3 separate regions of the Homo sapiens genome follow, and regions 2 and 3 are each linked to region 1. The links are contacts of gene promoters, found by promoter capture Hi-C in human tissues and cell types (Jung and others, 2019). All regions are on one chromosome and are shown on one strand. The core of a region is centred on a gene start or on the middle of the fragment in contact, and the rest is flanking DNA. Distances in the headings are between cores, read along the strand shown.

Region 1 (4,808 bases), core at 851-3,350:
GCTCAAACCAGAGCTTTCACAGAACTTACTCTAACCTCACCTTATCCCCAGGTTGAATTCCTTGGTAGGCATTTGGGGTATTAGTATTTCTCCTTCAAAGCATGTGTCACAATGGTAATTTCACAGGTAGTTGTCTCATCTTTGATGCTGATCTATCTCTGTCATTGGTCAGGAAGCTCTGTGAGGGCAAGAGCTCTGTGTCTTTTCATAGCTGTATTCCAGGGTCGGTACATATGATCTGGCACATAGAAGCTGCTCTTTTGTTGTAAGAATAAATGAATGAATGAATGGATGCATTTTCTGACCTCTACCTGGGCACCATCCTTTCCTTTCTTTTCCCATTTATGTTTGGCTCTCCTAAAAGATCAAAGAATGGCTCTGTCCCTCCTTTGAAGTCCTTTAGTACTTCCAGTTCTCTCTCCTGCTCGCTTCACTTTCTATGCCTTGTACTTTTGGAACTTGGCATGGCCTGGCTGCCTGCACCTGCACCTGGGTTCAGGGCTGGACTTTTCCTGTGGGTGGGTTCACTTCCAGACTAGAACAGAAGCTTCCTAAGGGCAGGGACTCTTCCTGGGATACATTCAGGTGAAAAAACTTGGCTGAATGCAGGAATGAATGAACACAGGCAAAAGGCGAGTTGCTCCAAGCTGCAGCTGACAGCTGAGCTCTAAGTCTTGGGAGGCATCCACAGCAGACAGCCCCTGCTTTCAGGTTCCTCGTAAGAATTCCTGCTTCCTTTGGGCAGGCATTATACTGGCCCCAGGACATAGCCTTATATAGTTTGCAGTCCTGGGGGATGTGTGGGGGAAATGGGGAAGACCTGTGGGGATGCTGTCCAAATAATGATTCTTTGTCTGCAGCTTCAGTGGGAAGAACAGTTGCTGATACGGAAGGAGGGGAGGCAGACCTCTGAAGCATTGAGTGCAAAGGAACAGGATGCTCACATTTAGGCAGTGGGTGGTTGTCTAGCAGTGGGCAGGGAGGGCCTGAGGCAGACCAGAGTCCTGGCAGGGTTTCTGTGGTCCTCTGCCTCCCTGCACCTCCCCATCAGAGCAAGGCCCCCCTCTTTGGGAACAGTCACTTTTGGCTGCTCTGTGGCCTCTAGAGCCAGCCCCTGAGAATACCCCACAGCCCTCCCTCTGAACCCTGGCATGGGCTGCAGGGCCAGCTCTGCTGCTGGTTTCCTGTATGACCTTGGGCAAGTCATGCCTCCTCTCTTGGTCATCTCTGTTCTGAGCCCTGGCTTGCTGTTTAGACATGTGTTTCCAGATGGGTGAGCTGAGTCCCCAGGAAGGTCAGGGTTTGATGAACTCCTTGGAAAGGGTTCTCTAGTATCTTCCCTTCTGCTGCCTCTGGAGGGCCCTGCATCAATACTGGGAGAGGGACAGGGCAAGGAAATAGCTCCCGGTGAGATCCCTTCCCCCAGTCTCAGTTTCTTCCTCTTTACAGTGGGGGTAACAGTGGACCTGGGGGCTGCAGGCTGTGGAGGGGGAGTCAGGAATGTGGGTGGGTGGGTGGCTGTCCTTGTGGCCAAGAGATTAGGATTGTGCTGGTTTTTTTCCAGTGACACCCAGCAACTCTCTGTCCTCTCAAGAATGTTCTCCAGGGAGAACAAGACTTGACTGATTCTTCAGAAGAGTGCTGCACCCATTTTACAAGCGGACAAGCCAAGTCCTTAGAAGGCATGGGACTAGTCCAAGGATGGGTGGCAGGTGATCTGAAGCCTCTAGGCTCCTAGCCCCAGGTGGCCTGTTCCCTCAATGGAGCCACTCCAGCTCTGGCAAGGGCAGGTGTGGTGGCGCTGCTGGTGCCTGCTGTGGGAGTACAGTGGGCCTTTGTGCCAGGCGGGCACCACCCCCTGGCTGGCCCCTCCCCATTCGCAGGACAGCTCTTACCTGCCGGGCCGCCGCCCCAGCCAACAGCTCAGCCGGGTGCTCCTTCCTGGGCTCCACGCCCGGAGCTGCTTCCTGACGGTGCAGCCGCAAGGCATCGCAGGGGCCCCGCGCTACTGCCCTGCTCCCTCAAAGTCCCAGGTCCCCTCCCCTGGTGCTGATCATTAACCAGGAGGCCGTATAAGGAGCTAGCGGCCCTGGCGAGAGGGAAGGACGCAACGCTGCCACCATGGACAGTAGCACCTGGAGCCCCAAGACCACCGCGGTCACCCGGCCTGTTGAGACCCACGAGCTCATTCGCAATGCAGCCGATATCTCCATCATCGTTATCTACTTCGTGGTAGTGATGGCCGTCGGACTGTGGGTATGCAGCGGGTTCTGGGATGCGGGTGGGGAGGGTGCGCACAGAGGAGGAGCAATGGCCTCGCTGAGCTGCAAGGGGCAGTAGGCTTAAGTGTCGGTGGAGGGGAGAGGAAATGACTTGGAAGCACTTTAGAAGCACTCAGAGGCACAGCATGAAGGGAGGAGGGCAAGCAAGGATGAGCAGAAGTGAGAAGGGTGCCCAGGGCAGCCTGCCAGGAAGGACCAAGGAGGATACCTGAGCCTGTGAGCAGAGAAGGAAGGTGGGGGTTTGAAGAGACCGCTGGAAAGTGTAAGGGGCAGGAAAGCGGCTGCTTAGAGCTACAGGGAGGGCTCTGGGGCTTGGGAGATGAGCCTCTAGCAGGTGACTACTGTCCTACCTTTTAGTCATCCAGTTTCAGATGGGAAAGAAATGGTGTGGAGTGGGAAAGCCACAGCCTCTGCCAGCCCCAGAGATGGGGATGCTGAGGTGGCAGACAGAGGGATGCTGACCCATGCCCCACTCCTGGGAGAGGCTAACCCAGAGGCCTTGTGCATGAGGATCCCAGGGGCTGGATCAAGTTAGAGATGAGAAAGATGGGTGGAAAAGGAGGAGGAGGAAGACCTGGGGGTGACCTGGCACTGGGGAGAGGGAAATGTGTGTGTCTCCTTTTGGGACTCTGGGGACACAGCAAACCAGAGAAACTTGTTCTCAGCCACCTGGAACATGGGCATTTCACTTATGACAGACTGTGGCAGGCCCAACAACTAGAGGAGGAGATGTTTTAAAAGTGTGCAGGACCGACTGTGGTGGTTCACTCCTGTAATCCTAGCACTTTGAGAGGCCAAGGTGGGAGGATTGCTTGAGTCCAGGAGTTCGAGATCAGCCTGGGCAACATAGTGAGACTCTGTCTCTACAAAAATAAAAAAAATTACAAAAAATATATAAAATGTTTGCAGATGTTCCAGCCATTCTCGTGATTGTTATGGAGGTGGAGGTGATAAGCCCAGGGAGGCTGCTGTAGCAGCTGGTGATTGTGTTGAACTCTTTTGACTTAGAGGAGAGGAAGGTAGGCATGAACACTTCTGTGGACACAGAGCTTTTTCAGGGACAAAAGGAAGTGTTTTTTTTTTTTTTTCCAAAGGAATTGTAGAAACTAGATGTGGCAGAATGCCTCCCAAGTGTCACATGGGGTCAGTATGGCTGACTTTTCCTCAATACTCTCAGCTTCCCAGACATAGTGGAAACTGACCAACTAGGAGCCAGGATACTCAAGTTCACTACTGGCTTTCACATGGTTCAAATCATGGAACATTGGGTAACTTCCCTCAGCCTCCAGTTTACTCAACTTTAACATAGGTACACTCTTATCTATTCTAATGACTCCCCCATGGTTGTGGTGAGGATACGCAGAGGTGAATCTGAAAGCTGTTTATGGACTCTAGGATTAAAAAAAACTACTATTGTCATTTACCTTCCATGGTATGATCTGGGCTCTGAACAATGTTTATCCTTTTAAGTAAAATGGGCAGCAGTGGTCAGGTGGGTAGTATATTTTTACAAAAGCCACAAGACAGGGAAGGCCAGAATGCTAATCCCCGTTTTACAGAAGAGGAAATTGAAGCCTCATGTGGTTGTGATTTGTCTAAGGTTACAATAGATGAAATTGTTCCTGGAACTCAGATCTCTTGACTCCTGATTTTTTATGGTACCAGGCACTCTGCCACTGTGACTGACTTCCTCCTTCCACCCCACCCCAGCTTATAAGTGCTGGAGCCAAGGTGTGAGCCCGTCATCTGCTGGCTATACAGTACTGCCTGTTTCCCAGACAATCTCTGATAATATCGGTTCTCTTAACCAATCTCATTTTAGCCCTGCCAGTCTAGTAGGTGTTTATACTTTTTAAATGGTGTTTACATGTTTCAAGTATCTGTGAATCAGTATCACTTGTCCTGCTAAATGCTACTTAATAGCCTGTTTAGTATTTGTCTATGTTTAATCTTCCCCCATTAGACAATGCCTCTGGACCCTGGTCATTTAATGCATTGGATTTCTTCCAGTTTATCCTCCTCTGTCTGCTATTAAAGTGGCAAGAGTGGCTTGATTCAGGGGTGGCCACTCTGACTCCTTCATGATCTCTGGGCTGCACAGGCAGAATGGTCCAGGCCCATTGTGTTTCTTCAACTTAGAAAAGACCCACACAGTCAATGTCCCTCTGTCACCTTCTCTATCTCTTCCAACATTATTTGGTTCTGTTTTGCTCTTTTACAATTCTGCCTCCTCCAATCATATTTTAGAATTTGGCTTCTTACTTCTTCAGAGTTAATTTCCATTTTTCTTTCACCACCTATCAGTTTGTTTCTTAGGGAATTCTATATCCTTTGAAGCTGGATCTCTGACCTTATTCTTCCTGGAAGAGTTCATCAAGCTATCCTGAAATCCCCTCAAGCCAGGGGTTGTTAAACTATGGACCATGGGCCAAATCTGTCTCACAGCCTGTTTTTGTATGGTCCATAAGCCAAGAATGGTTTTTACACTTCTCAAGGGTTGTGAAAAAGAAATAACAAAACAAGATA
Region 2 (4,808 bases), core at 1,309-3,808, 170 kb after region 1:
CCAGCATGTGAGGACATCTGACATGTGGGATCCACTGCGGTTATATTGAATTGGTGATCATGATGTGGCTACAAAACATAAACATTTGCCCACTGAGCACCTCCTCAGGGGGCACCTCATTTTCTTTCATTGCTCCGGAAGCTTCAGTGGCTCCTGATTTCGCAGAGGATGAGAGGTCCTGTCTTGTCATGTCCCTTTCCTGCCCCAGGCCTGGGATCCCCCACTGATCCCACTTCCCTTAGGAGGAGGAGGTATTTAAGGACCACACCCTGGAGACTCTCTCATGTCCCCCATTTGAATAAGGAAATGGTAGCCATCACCCCACCTGACCTACCCAATGTAAAACCAGATTGAGGGGTCCAGGGATCAAGGATGGAGCTTCCATTTTGTTGAGGGGGACCAGCCGGGCCTCACTGGCCAGGGCCATCCCAACTGGGTCAAGACCTGGGAAGATGGGGCTGAAACTCCTGGAGTCAGGGCTAGGTTAATGGGAAGGTTCCCAGGACACTGCACTCTAGGGTAACCAGCTTCTCCCTGGAGGGAGAGGGTACTGTCTGCATCACCCCATGGTATCACCAAGCAATCAGTGTTGAGTCAACTCCCCCAGGGAGACCAGGTATCCCTGTCCATGAAAATTCCTCCTAGTGGCATAAATGCCCTCTGATAAACTCATCCCCATGACTACATGATGGTTGGTGGGAAAACCAAACCCAAGACGCCGATGTCCTCCAGGGATCCTGCTGCTGGTCACAGGATGTCACTTGTCCCCTTATCTGTGGGGGTGAGGGTGAGGGGTGTGTGGACTCAATGAGCAGATGCCACCAGGGGGAGTGGCCAGAGCTTCCTTCCTCACAGCTGCAGTGGGGGCTGGGGGTAGGGGCATCCCAGGGAGGGGTTTTTGTATGAGCCTGTGTCACAATGTGGCGCTGGGTCTGCTGGCGGGCCTCCTGATGGTTCTTGCCTGTGCCCATGGCAGCAGGTGGGACAGAACAATCCTCAGGCTCCCAGGTGCTTGCCTGGAAGTGCAGCGGCGGCGAGTGGGGCAAGTCTTCCCTCAAGCCCTGGGACAGTATCTGGGTGGGCTGGTTCCCAGACACAATGAAGGTACGTGCAATTTTGTGTCAGCCCTGCTGCTGGGGGTGGGATGTGGGGTTGCTGTCAGTGGCAGCAGCCACAGGCAGATGGCTCTCAGGCTCATGCACTTGGGTTTCCTTTGTCATGGAGCTGGCCTCCTTGGTGCACTGCATTGCCCATTCCCTGGGGTGTAGGACTCTTGTGTGGGCTAGAGTGCTGGAGACGCGGTCAAACCGCTGGTCTAGCCGGCATCATGCTGCTGTAGCCCTCTAAGTGGATAAGGGGAGATGTCAGGGGGGCTCTAGGGATGTGGAGATGCAGGGCTGTTGGGCCCCAGGGCAAGAGGCAATCCTCATGGGGTCTGGGCTCTCAAAATGGCACGTGCTGGAGCTTCTTGGATCTAAAGTGTGTGTGTGGTACCCAGCACGACTCCCTCTGGAACAATGCCATTGCGTGGACAAGTACAGGCAGCATCCTATGCTGTCTCAGGGCCCACAAGAGCTGAGGGGCTCTCCCATGGCCAGGGTTGCAGGAATCTGTGGTGGGAATGTGGACCCCTGGGAATCTCTCACTTACCTTTTCCCCTGCACTGGGGAGCTCATCTGGTCTTGCTTTTCTCTCCTTCCATATCTCGGATGGTTCTGTCACTTCCCCGCTGAATTCCAGCATTCTCTGTTAGATGCTCTATTTGACATGTGATTATCTGTTTTGCTCCTTCTTTGTGGAGGAGACGAATGTTGGGCACCTCTAGTCAGTCACCTTGAAGCTCTTCTCCAAGTGTCATTTTTTTTTTTGAGTTTTAAAGTTGGCCTGTTGGTCTTTTTATTCCGGATACAACTCCTTTGTCAGACGTGTGCGTACTCTAAGTATTTTCAGTTATTTTGTGGGTTGTTTGGTCATTTCCTTTAAGGTGACTTTTGTTGGCTAGAAGTTTTCAATTTTGATGTAGTTCAATATATTGCTTTTTTCTCCTATGATTGGTAATTTTTGTGTCCTCTGTATGAAGACATTGTCTATTCCAAGGAGGTTATATTATATATATACACACACACACACACACACACACACACTATATATATATATACACACACTATATATACACACTATATATACACACACTATATATATACACACTATATATGTATGTGTGTATATATATACATATATGTATACATATATATCTATATATGTATACATATATGTATACATATATATCTATACATATATGTATATATCTATATATGTATACATATATATCTATACATATATGTATATATCTATATATGTATACATATATATCTATACATATATATGGATATATATCTATATATGTATACATATATATCTATACATATATATGGATATATATATCTATATATGTATACATATATATCTATATATATAGCAGGGAAGCCCAAGTCTGTTTCTTCCTATCCAAATGCAGTTCAACAGTTAGGCTTACTTGTCTCTTTCTCATTTATTTATGGGAGCTCTTTTTTTCCTGTTTTGTAATATCTTTTGGACTCCACATTTTCAATTTCATTTGCACTGCCTTTTGATATACAAAATGTGTTTATTATTTTTAGGTTTCCTGTTTTAAGAATGTTCCTCACCTTAAACCACTTGATAGAAAAATAGGAAAAGGTTATAAATAGGCAACTAATTGAAGTTAAAATAACTGATTAGTTAGCACTCCTGTGAGATTTTTCACCAAGGGAATTAGCAAGATATATATATTTTTTGAAAAAGCAACAACTTTTGTTGCTACTGAGCCTGCAGGGGAAACGGTCCTCCTGCTTGTTCCCTGTTGATGGGAATGTGAATTGCTTCAACTTTTTGGAAAGTAACTAATCAGTATCTATTAAAAGTGTAAGTAAACATAGCTATGGCTAAGTTATACCACTACAAAGATTCTGTCCTGTAGAAATGAAACCATCCAGTGTAAAAGATGATTGCTACAACACTATTTGTGGTGGCAAAGAGTACTTAACTTGAATGTCCATCTGAAGGGGAATTGTTGGCTGGATGCAGTGGCTCATGCCTGTAATCCCAGCGCTTTGGGAGGCTGAGGTGAGTAACTTGAAGTCAGGAGTTCAAGACCAGCCTGGGCAACATGGCAAGATCCCATCTCTGAAAAAAATAGGGTGTGGTGGCATGTGCCTGTAGTCCCAGATACTTGGAAGGCAGAGGCAGGAGGATTTCTTTGGCCCAGAAGTTGTTCTTTTAATTTCTGGCCTTACTGAATCACTGGGCCCAGGAATTGCAGGCTGCAGCAAACCATGATAGTGCCACTGCATTTCAGCTTGGGTGACAGAGCAAGAACTTGTCTTAAAAAAAAAAAAGAAAGAAAGAAAGAAAAGAAAAAGCGGGAATTGCTAAGGAAATAAAATACATTCAATATTATAAATTAGGCAGAAATTAAAATAAATACATTTGATCTACATTAGTTAGGCTTAGTAATGTCCACAATGCAGTATAAAGAGAAAAAAGTAAATTGCAATATAATGTAGGATTTCAGTATGTCATTTCAAACAAAACAGACAACAAAACCCTGAAAAGACAATTGAAAGTAAGTCACAAAACCCAGAAGTCATAAGAGAAAAAGAAACAATTTGACTAAATATAAATTAAAGCTTCTGTACAATAAAAGACAACATAAAGTTACAAGGCAAGACATAGACTTTAAGACAAAATACTTGCTATTCATATGCAAATAATAAATATATAGAATATGTAAAGAATATCTGTAAATGAATTAGAGAATTGGTAAAGGATATCAAGTAATTCACAGAAAAAATATGAATAGCTAATAAATACATGCAAATATATACAATCTCACTAGTAAGTGGAGAAATACCAATTTAAAAAATGAAACTATTTTTCAATCATCAAATTGACAAAAATTCACTATGATTGGTAATATACCCTGTAGTCAAGCATGTGAGTAAATAAAAACTCTCATATACTGATGAGAATATAAATTGGCAAATCCTTTTTGAAACATAATTTTTAATCAAAATATTAATGCTTGTACACTTTGCTCCAGTATTCCATTTCTAGGAAAATAAAGAAAATAAAACTAGCAAATATGTCAAAAGATGAATATACAGGTATGTCTATTTGAGTATTGTAGATAATAGCAAATAATTGAAACCAACATGAATGCTCCTTAGTAGAAAAGTGGCCAAATTATAGTGAACTATCCTATGGAACAATAGTGCAGCTATAAGAAGAATGAGGGAGATCTATTTGTACAGATAGGCAAAGATCTCCAAGATATATTTTATGTGTAAAAGCCAGTCACAAAATAACACATAAAGGAAGATTGCATTTTGTAAATGTATGTGTATGTTTACATATGTATATAAATTAATAGAAAAATTACTTACTAGAACATATGCTTTAACTTGTCAACACTTCTTTGGGAAGTTAGTGACAGTAGATGAGAGGATTAGGTTGTCAGTGAAGAGTATTATATTTAATTCTACAGACCCAAGGGCATTGTTTGAATTTTTATAACAATATGATGGATATGTTTCTTTAATTTTTATTATTTTTACCCAGGAAGAGACAGTCTCCAGCATGTGCTGAAAGTGCTCTCTCTTCCATGTTTCTTTTTTGAGATGGAGTCTCACTCTGTCACCCAGGCTGGAGTGCAGTGCTGCGGTCTCGGCTCACTGCAACCTCCGCCTCCCAGGTTCAAACGATTCTCCTGCCTCAGCCTCCTGAGTAGC
Region 3 (4,808 bases), core at 624-3,123, 150 kb after region 1:
CGGACTGGAGCATCAGTAGTGCCTGAGTTCATCAAAGGACAGATGCTCAAGACACCTTGATCACCATTAGGTGGAACTGAAGGAGCCAAAAATGGGCGCAATGGCTCCTCAGCAGATACGCTCCTGAATGTATAGACATGGGAACCACTTTCAGCATCAAAAAAGGAAACGTTCTGCATGCCCATATCCAGAAAAATCCCCACTCGCTGTAACTTGCGGTCTACGAAGAGGAAAGTCAGCGGCACCGTGGTGGCAGAGAGGCGGCCTCCATCCCTCAAACTCACAGTCCAGAATCCAAGCTCTGTGGTCAGCTGGATCCTCCCTTTGCGGTGAACAGATTCTCTGCAGACTCCCAGGTCCCATTCTGTGCTTGTTCCCACGTCCACCTCCCAGCAGTGGCGGCCACAGGTAAAGCGAGGGGAGCCCAGGATGCAAACGGACACGTCAAATCTCTCGGCAAGGTCTTGCCGATTCTGTCTGATGCGCCCACTTCGGACGCTCCTGAGGTCGTCAGAAATGAGGAGGAAGTTGTTGGCTGTGTTGGCATCCAAGGTCATATCCACTGTGAAAAGGAAAAAAAGTTGCTCAGCAAATGGACAGAAACCAACCCTATGCCTCTCTTCTACTTCAAAGGCCCAAATATCTCTTGACTTTAGTTTCTTTAATTCTCTTCTTCCCCCAAAATCCAAACTTCATGAGGTAACTTCCCTGACTAGTTCAAATTCTCATAGGTATGCTTTGTGGCAATACCTGACCCTTATTCACAGTAGCAATTCTTATTTTACTTTATGTCATGTGTTTGCTTCATTGGCCTTTTCTTCGTTTAGAGTGGAGGGTCTTTGAAGGCAGACACCATGCCCCCCTTTCTACCACCTTGATGCATGAACAAATAAATGATAAGACAATGCAAGTGGTCGATATTAAATGATGTTTGTTTCCACATTTTTTTGCTTCAATTTAAATAGTATCTAGAGCATGAGTCCAGGCCTTTGTTTTCCATGTTTGTAAACAAATTAATCGTGTACAGTTCTGACAGAAGATGGAATATCTCTGCAGCTGACGGTGTGATGACAGAGGAAGGAGGCAATGTGATCTGGCCTAGAGAAAATTAATTGTCCAGAACATTCTGAAAAAAAAAAATCTACAGAACATATGATCCTTCAAGTCAAAAAACTGATATGATCACCAATATAGATTTTATAGATTACAGTAAGACTTGAAGAGATTGATTGCTGTTTGATGGTGAATTAGGGAATGAAATGAATGGACATGGATAAGGAAGGAGGAAGAGGGTTCCAAACATGACTTGGGCAGGGTGAATCTGTCCTCCATATTTCAGCAGAGAGACAGTCAGTTTTGGGTAGGTGGAAGAGTAGAGATCGTGGGTGTCAGGGCAGAAGCTACCAGTGTCGGGGACATCATAGGGGCCCACCACCATTTATAGGTGTAATTCTGTGCCCAGGCTGACCATAATCTCTTCATGTAAATGTCCCTTTTCTCCAGAGTTATAGAGATGTATAGTATTTTCTGTAGCCAGGACCACTGTTGAAGCCCATGGCGCATGGATGAGGAGAACACTGTCTGAAACTCTCCCCACACTCACAGAAACAAACACCATAGGTGCTCCATTCCCAACTCTTCCCAACCCTGGGGTAAGGTTGTTTGTACAATGGGTGCCAATATTCACCGTGCATTAGAATTACCAGGCCCATTTTAATGTTAGAGTCCTGGGAACCTTTGCTAGAGAGAAATTCAAATTCAGTTGCTCTATGTTTTTGCTACTCAGCAAAGTCCCCAAGCCAGTGGGATCAATCCTGAGACTTCCCAGTTCAGCATCTGCATTTTAACAAGATCCCCAGGTAATCTGAGCACACTAAGTTTAGAGAATCCCTTGTCTAACCCATGACATAGACATCGGGTTTTTGTTTGTTTTTGTTTTTGACATCACCAGGTGATTCTGTATGTTGTCAGGGCTGAGAATCTGATGATGAAGCATCTCAATTTTAGGTGCCAGACAGCAGCTAATCCCCATGTGGAATGAGGGGCCAACTGCACAAATGATTTTTCCTGGTCTGGTCTTGGGAAGGGGGCAGGGTATACAGATGCCTTACCTTGGAACTTCCGCATCCTTGGGTTCATCTGCAGAATCTTCTTCAGCTTGGGCTCCAGTTCCTTGATGTGGGAAGCCAGCCTCTCTAGCTGCCGATTGCGCCTGATTTTGTTCTTCCGAGAGACCATGGAAGAGCAACAGCAAAGTAGATCCTCCCCATGGGGCTCCTTCTGCAGTGAATTAATGCACTTGAGGCAGACGGCGCATCCACACTCCAGGGACATTGGTTTTTCCAGATAGTCTGAGCAGACGGGACAGCTGCTTGCTTCTTGGAAGAGTGCAGCCATGTCCACTGCCAGGGGAAAAGTACACAAGGTAAAAAAATTTCCATGAGGTGAAAGCCTGTTAGTTGTGACAAGTGACAACCTTTTCATGCATAGAGGTATTGTGTTCCAGCTTTGTCACTCCGAGAATAAGACCATGAGTACAAACACTCAAGCACATCCCCCCACCCCCCGTCTTCAGAGATTTGAAGTTCTATTGGGAAAGTCACGAATCATCACTGTGCTCTGAGCTGAGGTGGAGGAAGCGTCCATTCTCCTGGTGACCCAGCAGCTGAGCCTGAGCCAGTGACATGGCAGCACCCATGTGAGGAACAGCGAGCTGGGGTCATTTCACCTCCTCCTAGGGGAACCCCAGCAAGAGACTGATTGATGAACATAAGAATTAGGGGCTGGGAGGCCGGGCACGATGGCTCATGCCTGTCCAGCACTTTGGGAGGCCAAGGTGGGTGGATCATCTGAGGTCGTCAAAAGTTCGAGACCAGCCTGACCAACATGGGGAAACCCCATCTCTACTGAAAATACAAAAGAATTAGCCAGGCGTGGTGGCACATGCCTGTAATCCCAGATACTTGGGAGGCTGAGGCAGGAGAATCACTTGAACCTGGGAGGCAGAGGTTGCAGTGAGCCGAGATCCTGCCATTGCACTCTGGCCTGGGCAACAGAGTGAGACACCATCTCAAAAAAAAAAAAAAAAAAAAAAAAGAGGGGCTGGATGCAGTAGCTCACATCTGTAATCCCAGCATTTTGCGAGGCCGAGGCAGGAAGATCCCTTGAACCGAGGAGTTTGAGACCAGTCTGGGCAACACAGGAAGACCCTGTCTCTACAAATAATACAAAAATTAGCAGAGAGCAGAGATCACGCCAAGTCACTCCAACCTGGACAACAGAGTTAAGACCCGTCTCACCAAAAAATAAAAAAATAAAAAAATAAAAAAAATTACATCCTTCTCCAGCCTTGGAAGTGAATACCAAATTGACTGCCACCACTCTTACACTCCTAGACTGGGGATCCAGGGTGACTGGTTTCCAACTCTGAGGCAGCACTCAGACGGCCTTTGTTGAATTCATTAATTACGAATTTCTCTCATTCATCCCCCCAAGTCATAACCCCCATTTCTAGGCATCTAAGAGGAAAAACACACACACAGGCATGGGCTCACCTCTTCTGCTGGAAGCTCCTCTGTCCTCCAGCTGCTTCCACTGGGCGCTCAGGTCTTGTGGGGAAGGGGCACACGAGGGCCTTTTATTGGTGAGATTCCCACCTCCCACTGGGTCACGCCCTTCCACACCCTCTAACCTGATGAGGCTTTGATTTAATTATAACAGGGAATTAGGTTTTTACTGGTGATATATCTCCAGTTAATTATAACTTCAGTAAATCCTTCATCCTGACAGTGTATTTTTCTTTCATATGAAGGTAAGATTAAATTGCCTTTATATTAAATTAGGCTTAATGTACTAACTTCAAAAGCTTATTTTAGAGATGTTTCCATCAGTTGTCAGTAAAGATAATTCCTGTAATATGTTGTAGGCTTCAAGCTTTGCTTGGAATCCTAAAGTATTAAGTGTGATTGGATTTGCAATTTTACAAAATGGTTTAAATTCATATACATCAGACTCAAAGGTAATAAGGGCAGGCATTCCATTGAGGAAATTCTAGGTACTTTTTATTTGTTTCCATTGGTTTATTTCCGGCTTTGAAAAAATTTCATAATTCATAGGAAAAAATTAGATAATTACTATTTTGACAAATGACCATTAAGCTTCTTGGACCTTGAGTACTTCACAGAGTGTTAAGATAAAAGTCACAATTTAAAAAAAAAGATGATTTTCTTGTGAAACCTGTGTTTTCAAATAAAAATTGTTACCCGTGAAGTGAGTTGTGCTTTCTTCCATTTGAATCAACCCCGAATCTTTTCGTCTTCATGCCTTTCTGTGTAGTGGGATCTTTACTGCTTTGTTTTCAAATTTCAAATAATTTGAATATAATCTTATCATTTTCCCTATCCCTTTGGCACATATTAAAGGAATTTTCTCTTTTTGCGTAATTAAAAATAAAGACCTAATTTTGGTCAGCTTTAAATATGATTCCTCATGGGATTAGAGGACTCTGAGACACTCAGGTCTTGTTTTGGTTTACTTTTTTTTCCTCTTTACTTTCAGTTGACATGTAATAATTGTACATATTTATGGCACACAGTAATATTTTGATACATGCATGTATAATAATCAAGTCAGGATAATTAGCACACTCTAAACATTTCTTTCTTTTCTTTTTTCTTTTTTTTTGAGACAGTGTCTTGCTCTGTCAGCCAGGCTGGAGTGCAGTGGCACAAACTTGGCCCACTGCAACATCCGGCTCCTGGGCTCAAGCAATTCTCCTGCCTCAGCCTCCTGAGTAGCTGGGATTACAG

The links. The method cuts DNA at HindIII sites, captures the fragments that hold promoters and counts their contacts. A contact is called where the count stands out against the background at its distance.
Region 2: a contact is called between a fragment that was not itself captured here and the fragment with the promoter of SLC5A1 in region 1, in 2 of the 25 tissues and cell types used here (heart left ventricle and lymphoblastoid cells).
Region 3: a fragment that was not itself captured here is called in contact with the fragment with the promoter of SLC5A1 in region 1 in 3 of the 25 tissues and cell types used here (adrenal gland, lymphoblastoid cells and mesenchymal stem cells).

The regions. Positions count from the first base shown.
Region 1 is chr22:32,041,161-32,045,968 of GRCh38, forward strand. SLC5A1 (solute carrier family 5 member 1) reads left to right here and starts at 2,101. Exons shown (of 15, transcript NM_000343.4): 1 at 2,101-2,256. The coding sequence starts at 2,122. The HindIII fragment of the contact is 11,764 bases long and covers 1-4,808 here.
Region 2 is chr22:32,211,357-32,216,164 of GRCh38, forward strand. The region is part of intron 2 of SLC5A4-AS1 (SLC5A4 antisense RNA 1); the gene reads left to right. Among named protein-coding and RNA genes, the nearest start is that of SLC5A4-AS1, 8.6 kb to the left of the region's middle. RefSeq lists an enhancer at 746-1,247. The HindIII fragment of the contact is 5,924 bases long and covers 1-4,808 here.
Region 3 is chr22:32,190,791-32,195,598 of GRCh38, forward strand. RFPL2 (ret finger protein like 2) reads right to left here. Exons shown (of 5, transcript NM_001394555.1): 3 at 3,555-3,700; 4 at 2,112-2,402; 5 at 1-562. Among named protein-coding and RNA genes, the nearest start is that of RFPL2, 12 kb to the right of the region's middle. The HindIII fragment of the contact is 8,298 bases long and covers 1-4,808 here.